Linked DNA regions of Homo sapiens: all the other regions are linked to region 4. The links are contacts of gene promoters, found by promoter capture Hi-C in blood cells and fetal thymus (Javierre and others, 2016). All regions are on one chromosome and are shown on one strand. Each heading gives the region's core, a stretch centred on a gene start or on the middle of the fragment in contact. The rest is flanking DNA. Distances are from core to core; before and after follow the strand shown. Region 1 overlaps MBP (myelin basic protein). Region 2 overlaps ZNF236 (zinc finger protein 236). Region 3 overlaps ZNF236 (zinc finger protein 236). Region 4 holds the start of MBP (myelin basic protein).

What was found. The method cuts DNA at HindIII sites, captures the fragments that hold promoters and counts their contacts. A CHiCAGO score of 5 or more calls a contact.
Region 1: a fragment that was not itself captured here is called in contact with the fragment with the promoter of MBP in region 4 in 6 of 17 cell types (monocytes, neutrophils, activated CD4 T cells and 3 more); the score reaches 8.5 in monocytes.
Region 2: a fragment that was not itself captured here is called in contact with the fragment with the promoter of MBP in region 4 in 3 of 17 cell types (naive B cells, total B cells and activated CD4 T cells); the score reaches 7.2 in naive B cells.
Region 3: a fragment that was not itself captured here is called in contact with the fragment with the promoter of MBP in region 4 in 1 of 17 cell types (total B cells); the score reaches 5.3 in total B cells.

What each region holds. Positions count from the first base shown.
Region 1 is chr18:76,986,642-76,989,483 of GRCh38, reverse strand. It overlaps MBP (myelin basic protein), which reads left to right. Exons shown (of 9, transcript NM_001025101.2): 6 at 572-607; 7 at 957-989. Among named protein-coding and RNA genes, the nearest start is that of MBP-AS1, 7.6 kb to the right of the region's middle. RefSeq lists enhancers at 172-221, 23-1,222. The HindIII fragment of the contact is 8,996 bases long and covers 1-2,842 here.
Region 2 is chr18:76,968,900-76,971,836 of GRCh38, reverse strand. It overlaps ZNF236 (zinc finger protein 236), which reads right to left. Exons shown (of 31, transcript NM_001306089.2): 31 at 1-2,937. Among named protein-coding and RNA genes, the nearest start is that of MBP-AS1, 10 kb to the left of the region's middle. The HindIII fragment of the contact is 3,480 bases long and covers 1-2,937 here.
Region 3 is chr18:76,941,114-76,944,113 of GRCh38, reverse strand. All of the region lies in intron 26 of ZNF236 (zinc finger protein 236), which reads right to left. Among named protein-coding and RNA genes, the nearest start is that of MBP-AS1, 38 kb to the left of the region's middle. The HindIII fragment of the contact is 2,065 bases long and covers 350-2,414 here.
Region 4 is chr18:77,131,523-77,134,329 of GRCh38, reverse strand. It overlaps MBP (myelin basic protein), which reads left to right and starts at 1,547. Exons shown (of 9, transcript NM_001025101.2): 1 at 1,547-1,750. RefSeq lists a silencer at 1,283-2,582. The HindIII fragment of the contact is 15,459 bases long and covers 1-2,807 here.

The DNA.
Region 1 (2,842 bases), core at 76-2,575, 140 kb after region 4:
TTGCTAATAAGGGAAACTGTTCGGGGTATGTGGAAACTAATTTCTGCACAGTTTTTCTGTAAACCGAAAAGTGCCATGCAAAACGAAGACGATTAAAAACAAGAACAAAACCACAGGCTTCTAATTCCAAGATCTCAGTGCAGCAGACATTTTATGCTCGTATTCGATAAGTGCACTTAGGAGCTGCAGACCTGGGGACATCCCCTTGGAAGCTCTGAATGTCAGAGGGCCCGCTACTCCTAGCCCCGGAAAGGGCTCACGGTGAAGCAAAGTCCGCCGCCTCCCTCAGTGTCCCAAGATGGGCCCATTCCCCAGCTACGGAGCCTCTGGGAGGTGTTTTCCATCCTCTGAAACACTTCCTGAGTGCTCTGGGAGATCTGCATCATCTAGAATATTTTCAATCTCAGGTCTATACTTCTTCACCAACTAGGACAGAAGTGGGGAGGCTGGGCACCCGGGTGCTTCTGGCAGCTGATGGATGCTAGCCACCCTCAGCAGGCAGGAGCCCGTTAGGAAATGGACGGCGGCACAGGGCTCCCAGTGCAGCCCACGGTTCTCTGTGTCTTTCCAGGTGACGCCTCGCACACCACCCCCGTCGCAGGGAAAGGTAAGACCTTGGAATGTTTTGATTGATCATCACTTTTCTGATAGACCTTCTCTAAAATCCCATAATGTACCAAAGAGAGAGTTAGGCTCCGAGCTACCAGAATCCATCCCAAAACGTGTTGCCAGGCAGCTCCCAAGTAGAACAGGTCGGCAGATCCATGCACCCCTCCTGTCCCTCCCGCACCTGCACAGCCGCTGTGGCCCTGAGCCTGCGGCCCCCCTCGGAGCTCCGGGTGGAACCTGTTTTTACCACCTCAGCTCCACTGTGCTTTGACTGTGTTTCCTGTTGATTGAAAGGACTTTCCCTTCACTGACCACCATGTCATTATTTCTCTGTCTTCCTCATGCAGGGGAGAGGACTGTCCCTGAGCAGATTTAGCTGGGTAGGTGACGAACGCACTTCCATCGGCTTCCTCTTCCGTCCCAGTCCTCACAGCCCCGCAACTTTTGTGTTCTGCTCTGTTTCGGTTGCTTCCTGGCCTCCTTTTCTCTCCTCTCGAGACCTCTCTGCCCACAGCTGGGATCGGGCCGCCTTGTCTTCCACTGGGGAAATGAAACGTGGTCTTCCCTTCCGGAAGGTCTGGTCTCTTGCTTCTGTGCCGGGGACCCAGCCCTGCAAGGCCAGATCCTCTTCTCCCAGAGGGTTCCCAGGCGACGTGACTGGTCTCCCTCCCAGGGAGGGAGCAACACCACGTCCGAGAAAATGTTTAACTTCCTCCAACACAACCAGTGCGAGAAGCCCCAGGAACCCGCATGTGGAAGTGGGACTGGCTGGCCCGTCTCAGTGACCCCAGATGCTGACACTGGGAAAATGATTCTGCTGATGAACAGAAAAAGAGGCTAAATAGAGTTGCTCGATTTATAATAACCTCATTAATCCAAAGATTTTTGTTTTGTATGTGTTTAAATAATAATTAAAACATAGATATCAAGCCATCCAGAAAATCTTCCTTAGGAATTTTAGGCTGGTTAATACTGAAAGCAAACTTTCAAGGAAGGTTTAAAATGGCCAATTTGAACTTTCTAGTGAAAAAATTTGGTGTCTGAGCCAAATTAAAATGCCAATCATTATATTCTAACCAAACTTACAGACTTTAGTTACTAGCAAATACCAGATATGATTCTTACTGTATAAAAGTTATAATTTTAGAATAAAATGGAGGAATAACCACCAACGTATTGTAGATAGGTTGTGTCTGTCTCCGAAACTGCAATGCTCTCATACGCTAGAACAGAGCCTACCTACACTTTCTGCTCAATTAATAAGCATCATATAAATGAATGAATACATTTTAAAAGAAAAACAACAAGGAGAAAGAACAGGAAGAAAGAACAGGGAAAGAAAACAGAAGGTGGGGAAGAGGAAGGAAGAGAGGGAGGAAGGGGCAGGGTACTTGAGAGACCATGAGGATCCCAGATCAGTCCCACACATGATTACACTGAATTATGAACTAAGATATTTACCGAAACGTTTTCCATTAATGCATATTTGACTTGCTTTTTCTGACCTAATGAATTTGCAAAACGATGACAATCATGTAGCAAATGTACATGGACTAGTACTCACAATTAATTTTTTATTTTCTATGCCAGCAGGAGACAAAGATGATAGAAGAATGAAATTCATTTTTGACCCAGAAATCTTATTTTAGCTACTGCTTTATCTGCTCTTAATTTTCTAGGAGTGGACTTTGGGGCCGTCGTGCCGGATCCTCCCTGAATGTGGAGCGATGGGGGGTTGCACACAGGCCGTTCTGCCCCAGCAGCTAACAAGAAAGACCCTTGCATTCCTCCCTGCATCTCTCCCTTTTGGGTCCTACTAATGTCTGTTGAATTTCTCTTTTTTCCAAAGCAAAATCCTTCTCTGCATTTTGTCTGCTTGTCTGTTTCCCAGAGCCGCAGGACTCTCTCCTTGTCTGGAGTTCCAGAGAGCCCCCACTTTCTCTTTCTAAGCTGTGTTGTGTGTTTCCTGGTACATTCTAGGTTCCCCAAAGATAAACATGACTAAGGATTGGAAAGGAGGAAAGGCCGCGCAGATTGTTAATCTGAAAGTCAATCCCCGGATTTAGCTCTCAAAAATGCTTTATTTTTGGAGAAAAGCAATAGAGTAAGACAGAAGGACTTAACGCTTGCAGGGAAGTGGCTTTCTGCCATGTAGAGCCAGGCTGGCAACCTGCCCTCTGCCATCAGGGAGTGAGCATGAACCTGGAAACCTCTAGGACGCAAGAGCGAGGCT
Region 2 (2,937 bases), core at 427-2,926, 160 kb after region 4:
TATCTTACCTATTTCCTTTAAAAATCTTATGTACATAAATCTTGAAATTGATTTACATGCCAAACTATTTTATCTTGAATATTTCCAAACATAAATCTGTGTGATGGTCATTTCATGTTAAAATGTGTATCTTAATGAGTTACAAATATTCTTCTAAAATGAGGAAAACCCACAGCAAGACAAGAAATCCACTTCTACTTCTAAAAATTGTGTAGCTGTGCTAACACATGCGTCTCTTGTAATAAATGTGATATGAGTTCAAAGGAAGACACAGAACACTAGCTATAATTTCAAAGATCAAGTTTCCTTAAAATATTACAACAGGGGAGTAGAAAATATGCACGAAGGAAACATCCCCTAGTTAAGTGCCAGACAAGCACTGATGTTCATGTCCCACCAGCAGAACACTGTCAGGAAGAGGAGAGTGGCATTTGATGAGCCTCCCACTGACCTGGCTGCAAGCTGTCAGATGCCATGTCATAGCATTTCCTCTATTTAGATACTTTCTAAGTGCCTCAAGTTTTTCAAAGGGGAAAAAGTAGAGCTTGATGGGGGTGGGGTAGCATTTCAATCTGCATGTTTGAAAACATGTCTTCATTTTCATCTATTGCCATTCTATGGAAACGCAGCCGCTTGGGCATTATCTAGCAGGTGGGACTCCACACATGCTACATGCCTCCTGCTTCCTCAGTACCTGCACCCCACCTTCACGTTTGGTATCTTTGCAAAGGCAATTCATTCTTTCAGCTTCAGTGCTTCATGGTTACTTGAGCACACAAGCAGGATCAAAACACTTAGGAACTTTCAAAAGGTTCCTCAATGACTGGGTGCCGTTGAATAAAGCAGCAAATGAAAGGGAACAGGAACAGTTCTGACACATGCACAGGGCACTGTGCTGACGCCCACGGCTCGCTGTCGCGGAGCCATGCCCTGATTTTGAAAGTCTGAAGCCTTTCCAGTGGACACTGCAGGGGTAAACGCCTCTGAACTTCACAGAGGTAAAGGAAAATACCACTAAAGTTTTCTCTTAAAAATATCTGAACTTGAAATTAATTTACATGCCAAACTGTTTTATCTTAAATATTTTCAAACGAAAAAAATTAATCACATTTCCTAACTTCATCTTTTATTTATAGTTATTCCAAAGCAGATATGCTATGATGAGATAGTTCTAAAAATACAGTTCTTTATCCTCAAAACCCTGGTTATACATGAGGCCTAGAAATCTCTTTTCTAGAATTTTTAAAACAACCAGTAAAATATAAAGATCAACCTGTACCCCACAAAGATTCAAGTAAAATTATGTCTTTTCAAAACCTTATATTTTCAAGGAATGTTCTGCAAAAAAGCAGCTTTTATAATTAGGAAGTAAATCGAAATAATACATAAAATGTCTTGTGTTTGCTAATAAATTGAGAAAAGACACAAAATTGAATTATTGATATTTTCTTTTTCTTTAACCAAAATAAAAGTAGGCTCTAGATTCACCTGTTAAGGCCTTAAACAGTCAATTAACCAATACAATTCACCAAACTAGCTTTCTATACAATTAGGAATTAAACAACCCCTTTTAGAGATGTCCTGAGATGACATTTAATGCTAAAATCAAAATAAATAACCCAGCAAGAACAAAAGTTTAAAATTCCAATAATTTCCACTTTGGGGATATTTTTTCACCAAAATTAATCAACATTTCTAAAATATTTCAATACAAAATTATAAAATAAAAAGTGCATTAAAAGCAGAACCTTTAAAACTCTAGCACAATTACAGTTATTCTGCATATGCGGCTACAGCCAGGTTTACACACTGACATTCAAGGAAGGAAACCTCCGGATTGGTAAGAAGTCCAGTATCACAAGCATAAGTCAAATAAGGCTTTTCTTTTTCTTAAAAAAATATACAATACACAAAGCAGTTTGGAAAAGAAGTAATATTATTTAACAATTTTCTGACTTAAATATCTTCACATAACAAAAGTTTTCATATCACCGTCAATATTACTTATATACATATGCCAAAAGTGAACAACAACAACAAAAAAATCAAAAGATGCCCTTTCAAAATAACAGTAAAATGTCTATTTCTTTAGGAATCTGAAATGAGCTCCTCTCTTAATATACAAAGTCCATACAATATTTATAATAAAACTACTCTCTTCTGAAACCAAGGAGGCAACGAGAGAAAATAAAGGCAATTATTTTTCAGGAAAAAAAAATAAAACCCAGCTTTATATGACAATGAAAAAGATATCCATTTATGAATAAAATGAATACAATACTGATCTGAAGTGCTCGTGGGGAGGTGAAACTGACGCTCTTTCTGCAATTAGGACTAGTACTTATATTTACAAAATATACTGTTCAGCCACACAGAGGCCCATATATCTATGTACATATGTATTTATATATAGAACATATAAATAATTTCAAAGGAAAAATTAACATGAAGTAAAGAACCTTCCATCTTTGGAATGCTGTAGGAATGGCGTGCACGCACTCTGCCCAGCACGGGTGGGATTTGGTTTGGGACATGTTTTATGTGGCACCATTGACGATACTAAAGAATTCCCTGAAATCAAAAATACATCTGTTTATGCACGAAGAGAAAGTCATGGGGTTTTTACGGATTCGTGGCCTTAAGCTACAGATATGCTTCTTATTTGCTGGGGTGGACAGGGCCACCGTTGCTTGCTCCTTGCAGACGGTTCTGTGGTTTCCTACCTGCGATGTATGGCTTGTGCTTCTGCAATTATGTAACCCTGGACCTGAACACAGATTGATGCGGTAAGTGTGTCGCCAGCCCGTGTGGACAGCTGAATCCTTATTGGTGGGTCAGGTTTACTCGAGTCCCCATGTTGACGCCCCAGATACTGCATTCTTGTAACTAATGATTAAACATTTGTCATGGAGAGAATTGGTCCAGCCATCTCTCAAG
Region 3 (3,000 bases), core at 133-2,632, 190 kb after region 4:
TTGGGCCTGCTGAGACCCAGGAATGTCAATGTTCGACTGAATCTGGGAAATGCTGTAAAATATGAGCAAGGGCTGGATACTGATGAAAGGCATTCTATGCAATAACAAACTTCACTATACCATTGTCAAGTACCCATAAATCAACCTCACTTACTGCTCACATGTACAATTTCATTAGAAATATTTTTCTTAGCAGTTCATAATTTTACCGGCCTATACACAACTCTTAATAAACTTAAAACAAAACATTGTGCCTCAATAAAAATGTCAAGATATTTACAAGTACAAGAGTAAATATGAACGACTTGTAGAAGATCAAGGCTAAGAAAGGCACAAAATTAAGAAAGCTTTAAACAGCATGGGCCAGATGACTCTCAGTGTTAAACTTACAACTAACTTGTTACTTCAGAATTGGCTTCTTTTCCCATCAGGAGTCTGTAATAAGATTTGCCAATTTCTGGGTCACTCCACAGTCAAATTTAGACTTAAAAAGCCACATTTATATACCTAAATACAAAGTTTTAAATGTTTTGCACCTGACCAATTATCTGTAATAATAAGTTTGTTTTTTTATGACAAGAATTAGTATAAAAGAGAATTCCCTTCATGAATAAGTAAATTGCTTCTTCTTGTATTCAGAATAAGAACTAAAAATCATTTTGCTTTCTTGAATAGATTTTCTGCATGCACGTTTACACCTCCTGATAAAACTGTCAGACTTCAGTGGGCAAGCAGGACACACAACTACCACCGGCCTGCTCCTCCTCACCCCTGAAGAGTCTAAAGTTTGGAACAAATAAATCAGAATTACATTTCAAAATTAGCCAATTTTCTCTGAATTAAAATTATCACTTACTCCCACAATATTCTTCCAAAATTGGGCCCTTTTCAAGTTTTAAATTAGAATTATGGACTTATAAAAACATATATATTCCAAATTTTTTGCTATTATGAACTCAAATTTGCTCTTCTTTTTTTTTTTTTTTTTTTTGAGACGGAGTCTCACTCTGTCGCCCAGGCTGGAGTGCAGTGGCACGATCTCGGCTTACTACAACCTCCACTTCCCGGGTTCACGCCATTCTCCTGCCTCAGCCTCCCAAGTAGCTGGGACCACAGGTGCCCGCCACCACGCCTGGCTAATTTTTTGTATTTTTAGTAGAGACGGGGTTTCACCGTGTCAGCCAGGATGGTCTGGATCTCCTGACCTCGTGATCCGCCCGCCTCGGCCTCCCAAAGTCCTAGGTTTTACAGGCGTGAGCCACTGCACCCAGCCAAATTTGCCCATTATTTAAGAATACTAGGCTGGGCGTGGTGGCTCATGCCTGTAATCCCAGCACTTTGTGAGGCCAAGGCGGGCGGATCACGAGGTCAGGAGATCAAGACCATCCTGGCTGACATGGTGAAACCCCGTCTCTACTAAAAAATAACAAAAAAGGTAGCCGGGCATGGTGGCGGGCGCCTGTGGTCCCAGCTACTCAGGAGGCTGAGGCAGGAGAATGCTGTGAACCCGGGAAGCGGAGCTTGCACTGAGCGGAGATCGTGCCACTGCACTCCAGCCTGGGCGACAGAGCGAGACTCCGTCTCAAAAAAAATAATAAAAAAATAAAAAATTAAAAAAATTATAAAATAGAATACTATTTAAGTAAAGTAAGACCACCTTTCTCTGTTTTTAGGAACATCATCTTTCATGGATTTTACAAAGAAACAAAAAATAATACATAATAAGTTTACATGACTTTCCTATCTTTTAAATATGTACAGTAATTTCTATGTTTATATTACTGTTTCCTTCAGTCCATTTAGGGAGATTCTTATTTTTCCATGCACAGAGTGCAGTGTTCAGGGTGGTATAATGCTGAACAACTTGATTTCTTCACATTGGATCTCTTCCCCGTGCTATTAGTCCGTTTCCTCATTAAATTCAAGGAGCACATGTCATTTTAAGGAAGTAATATTAAATCATTCGACATTTATCCCCTAGTGAATAACTCTTAACTGAACAATCATCATTAGACACCGGTTAATTTCTCTTGACCACCTTCTAATTTTCAGGTCAAATTTAATTTACATATTTACAGCCATTTTCTTGTAGGTTCATTAATCTCTTGACAATAAAATGGTGGTTTTATTGCTACCAAGGATTCATTATGTTTAGAAAAATACCATTCAAAAAGCTAAGAAAGTTTTCATCTGGTTTTTGCAAGTTTTCAGAGTATTAAATCAGCACAAGTCTAAGTTTGCCAGCTAATAGAAAAAAGATTCAAATAAAGCTACACAATTTCTATTGGATATTTTTAAATTACTTGTTGGACAATGCATGCTAATTAATCAATTTGGTTTAAAAATTTTGTATTTGATAATTTTTTTTAAAGTACAGAAAAGAATATACAGAATGAACTTAACCCACCAAAGCTTAACAGAAACACTAATGTATCTGGATAGACACAGGCTCCAGAAGACCCACCCGGCTCGTGCTGCTCACAAAGCCTCCTGCTCCCATGTCCGCAGGCCAGAGTGGAAGGGCTGAGGGGGGCAGCAGGGAAGCGCTAATGGCAGGGTGTGTGGCTGCAGGCACATCCTGGATGCCAGGCACAGGAGCCACCTGTGCAGTGGGTGGGAGGGAGAGGGCGTGGCAAACGAGGTACTGGCAGCTCAGCCAGCAGAGCCCAAGTCCACGTGGCGTAGCAGGGGCCAGGCAGGAGCCAGAGGGGCAGCTGATGGAGTTTGTCCTGAGGCGCTGAGGACCCACAGGACTTTTGTCCAAAAGCAGCATCCTAAATGAGAAAGTGACCCCACTGGTGTGAAGCCAGGGAGCCTGAGCTGCCAGCTGGTGAGGACAGCAGGCCCCGAAATGGGCCACAGCGCATCCCAGGGTCATCACTGCCACCAAAGCTTCACTCTACAGCCCTTCCTCAAGAACCTGCTTGGAGAACCACCTGCCCGCTCACAAGGCTCCTGGGTGACCCTTGTGCACTACACCAGCAGTCCCCACCCTTTTTG
Region 4 (2,807 bases), core at 298-2,797:
TGCAGCTGTCACTGTGGCCTGAGGGACGCTCCAGAGCCCAGCACACAGGGACATCTGCAGGCAGGAAGGTGGCCCCGCCCTGTGGAGTCACTGAGATAAAGCCAAGAGATATTTTGGGGAGGAAAAGCTGTTTCTGATGCTAAAGCAGGTATCTAAAATGGGACCCATTTTAGTGTTCCAGCTTCCCCAGCCTGAGCTTTGAGTGACTTGAGCTGGGACCTGGGTGCACCCGGGTTCATTGTCACCACCCGTGCTCCTAGGGCAGCTGTCCAGCCTCCCACGCCCACTCCGCTCATCCTTGACTTAAAGTGAGGTTGTGGGGCAGAAAAATTGGAGAAACACACTATCTTTGGCACCCTTTTCCCTCCTCACCTTCAGCCTCAAAGTCTCAGAACCCTCCTGCCCCCTCCACTTGAAAATCTCTCCTGAGGAAACGACCAGACTGAATGCTTTTGCGTCGTTGTGGAAGTATTTCTCTTCCAGTTGCCAGCATTTGAAGACAGTTGCTAAATCCTCCGGGGCTTTGGGGGAGGCTGGTTTTAGGCCGAAACCCCGACCCCGTGCTGAAGTCTGAGTCCCGCCTCCCAGCGCGGGCCGGGACAGCGCTCACCCCTCTCCCTCACTTCCTAACAAACTGTGTGGGTCCCAGGCTGCTCCAGGTCCCCTGGAAGCTCCAGATCCAGATCCCTGACTGGGGGTGTAGGTCAGGAGGAACGCGGGGCCTCATTCTGGGACTCCCCCAACCTCCTCCTCTTCCACCATCAGGAGGCTGAGAATCCAGAGAAAGATCTCTGACCACTAAATCTGTGTGCAGGTGAGTCACGGCTAAACAGCAGGCTTTTTCTTTTTAACAAGACAGCGACGAAGACCACGATGTCTCTGGGCTGCAGGACCAGGCTGCTTCCTCGCACCTGCGCGTGTTTTGCTGTCTTTTCCGCGCACGCTTCCTGCGCCGGTCCTGCAGGAGAAGGTGCGCCCCTAGCTCCCAGCTCCCAGCTCCCAGCTCCCAGAGGAGCACCTGCCAGCCGGACATGGGCCTGGCCTGGGCTCCAGGGGAGGGAGGGAGTGCCTTGGGAGGACCTGCCGGCTCCTTTCGCCTCCAGGCCGGGCTGACTCTCCTCCTGCAGGGCCGGGGCTGCGCCAAGTCTATCGGCAGTTTCTGGGGTTTCCAGCCCCTGAGGACGCGGGGAGATGCGGCCTGGCACCCCTCCCGCGAGGTCGAGGTCGGGGTCGGGGTGGGTTCGGAGGCCAAGCCTCCGAACGGGAAGGGTCGACGGGCCGCAGTTCGGAGCCCAGTTCGGCAGCGGGCGAGGCTCCAGGCCGCCCCTCCGAGGTCTGACCCTGCGCGTGGGCCCCGTGCGCCCCCCAAGTTCCGCGTGGGCAGAGCGGGCCCGGGGTCCTCCGAGCTCCCGGGGCGGCGCCGGCGGCCGCGTCCAGGTGGGGCGGGCCCGGCGGGATCGGCCTGTGTTTACCTGGCTCGCAGGAAGCCCGGGGAGGCGGGGCCGGGGAGCTGGGTGCGCGCCCGTCCCTCGGAGCCGCCGCCGTCAGTCACCGCCGCCGCGCGCCAGAGAGAAGCAGCCTCCGGCCCCGGCGGCCCCTGTCTCCCGACCCCGGAAGGCGAAGCAGGCTGCCCGGGGACCCCGCGCGTGGGCGCTTGAAGCCGAGACCAGCCTGCCCGGGCCTGGGCAGGCGGAGCAGGGCCTTGGACCCCGCGGCGCCCCTCGGCCTCGGAGCAACGAGCGCAGCGCCGGTGGGTGACCCTCGGGGACGGGCGGGCTGCTCTGCCGCCTTTGTCTCTGTGCCCCTCCGAGTGGGGACCGCGGAGACCTGGGCGGGACCCCGGACCGGAGCCCCGCGGGAGCCGGGGGCGCAAGATCGGGGACAGGAGCTATCCCGACGCCCGGACTCCGGGTCCCTTTCTTGGCTGGGGACGCGCAGGGAGAACCTAGGCAGCGGAGCAGGTGGCCGAGCAGGTAGCAGCCGGCGGCCTCCCTGACCCGAACCCAAGTCGCCGCCCCCGATCCCCATTGCGCGGGGGCTGGGCGCGGGTGTAGACGCGGGTTTACAGCGCCGGGGCCCGACCCTGACAGGTGTCCAGGGGTGGACTCCAGCCAGGCCCGGCGGTCCCAGGGTCGCTGAAACCGCTCGGCCTCGGGCCGTGGGGCTGAGGGGAGGAGTCTAGGGTGGGAGGGGACGGCGGTCAAAAGCGGCCACTCTGGGCGGGTGTGGAGAGGGTGCTGGCTGCCAGGGCGGGCTGGGGGGTCCTCCCGGCTCGCGGCGCCTGCTAATCACACCCCGGGGGCCCCGCGCGCGATCGCGCTCCTGCCCCTGCCCCCGGGGCGAAGCGCAGTCTCCCTCTGAGCTCCAGGGGCGGCCAGGAGAGCCCGGGTCCGGGCTTCCGCCTTCGCAGGGCCTGTCTCGGGCTCTTCGGCCGGGCCCGTCGCTGCGCCCACCTGGGCCCACGTGCGCCGCCCGCAGCCGCCCGCCGGCCCGCCCGGGTCTTCCCGGCAGTCCCCTCCTGGGCCCCACTGCCTGTCCTGGGCCGGGTGCGTCCGTTTTCCGTGGCCCCCGAGGCCGGGGTGTGTGACCTGCGGTCATTTGCCGCCACACTAGATTTTCCGGGGTGCTGGGGGCAGCGCCTTGTGTCCTTTCGCGTCCACCTGAGCCCCCCCGTTTTGGAAGGTGGAGTGGGGCTTGGGAAAAGGTTCAAGCGTCTTTGGGGACCCCCGTGCGACTCTGGCTGGAAACAGGCGAGCTCTGGTTCCTTGTTCCGTTTTCCAATTGCAACAACGTGAGAATCAACAAGT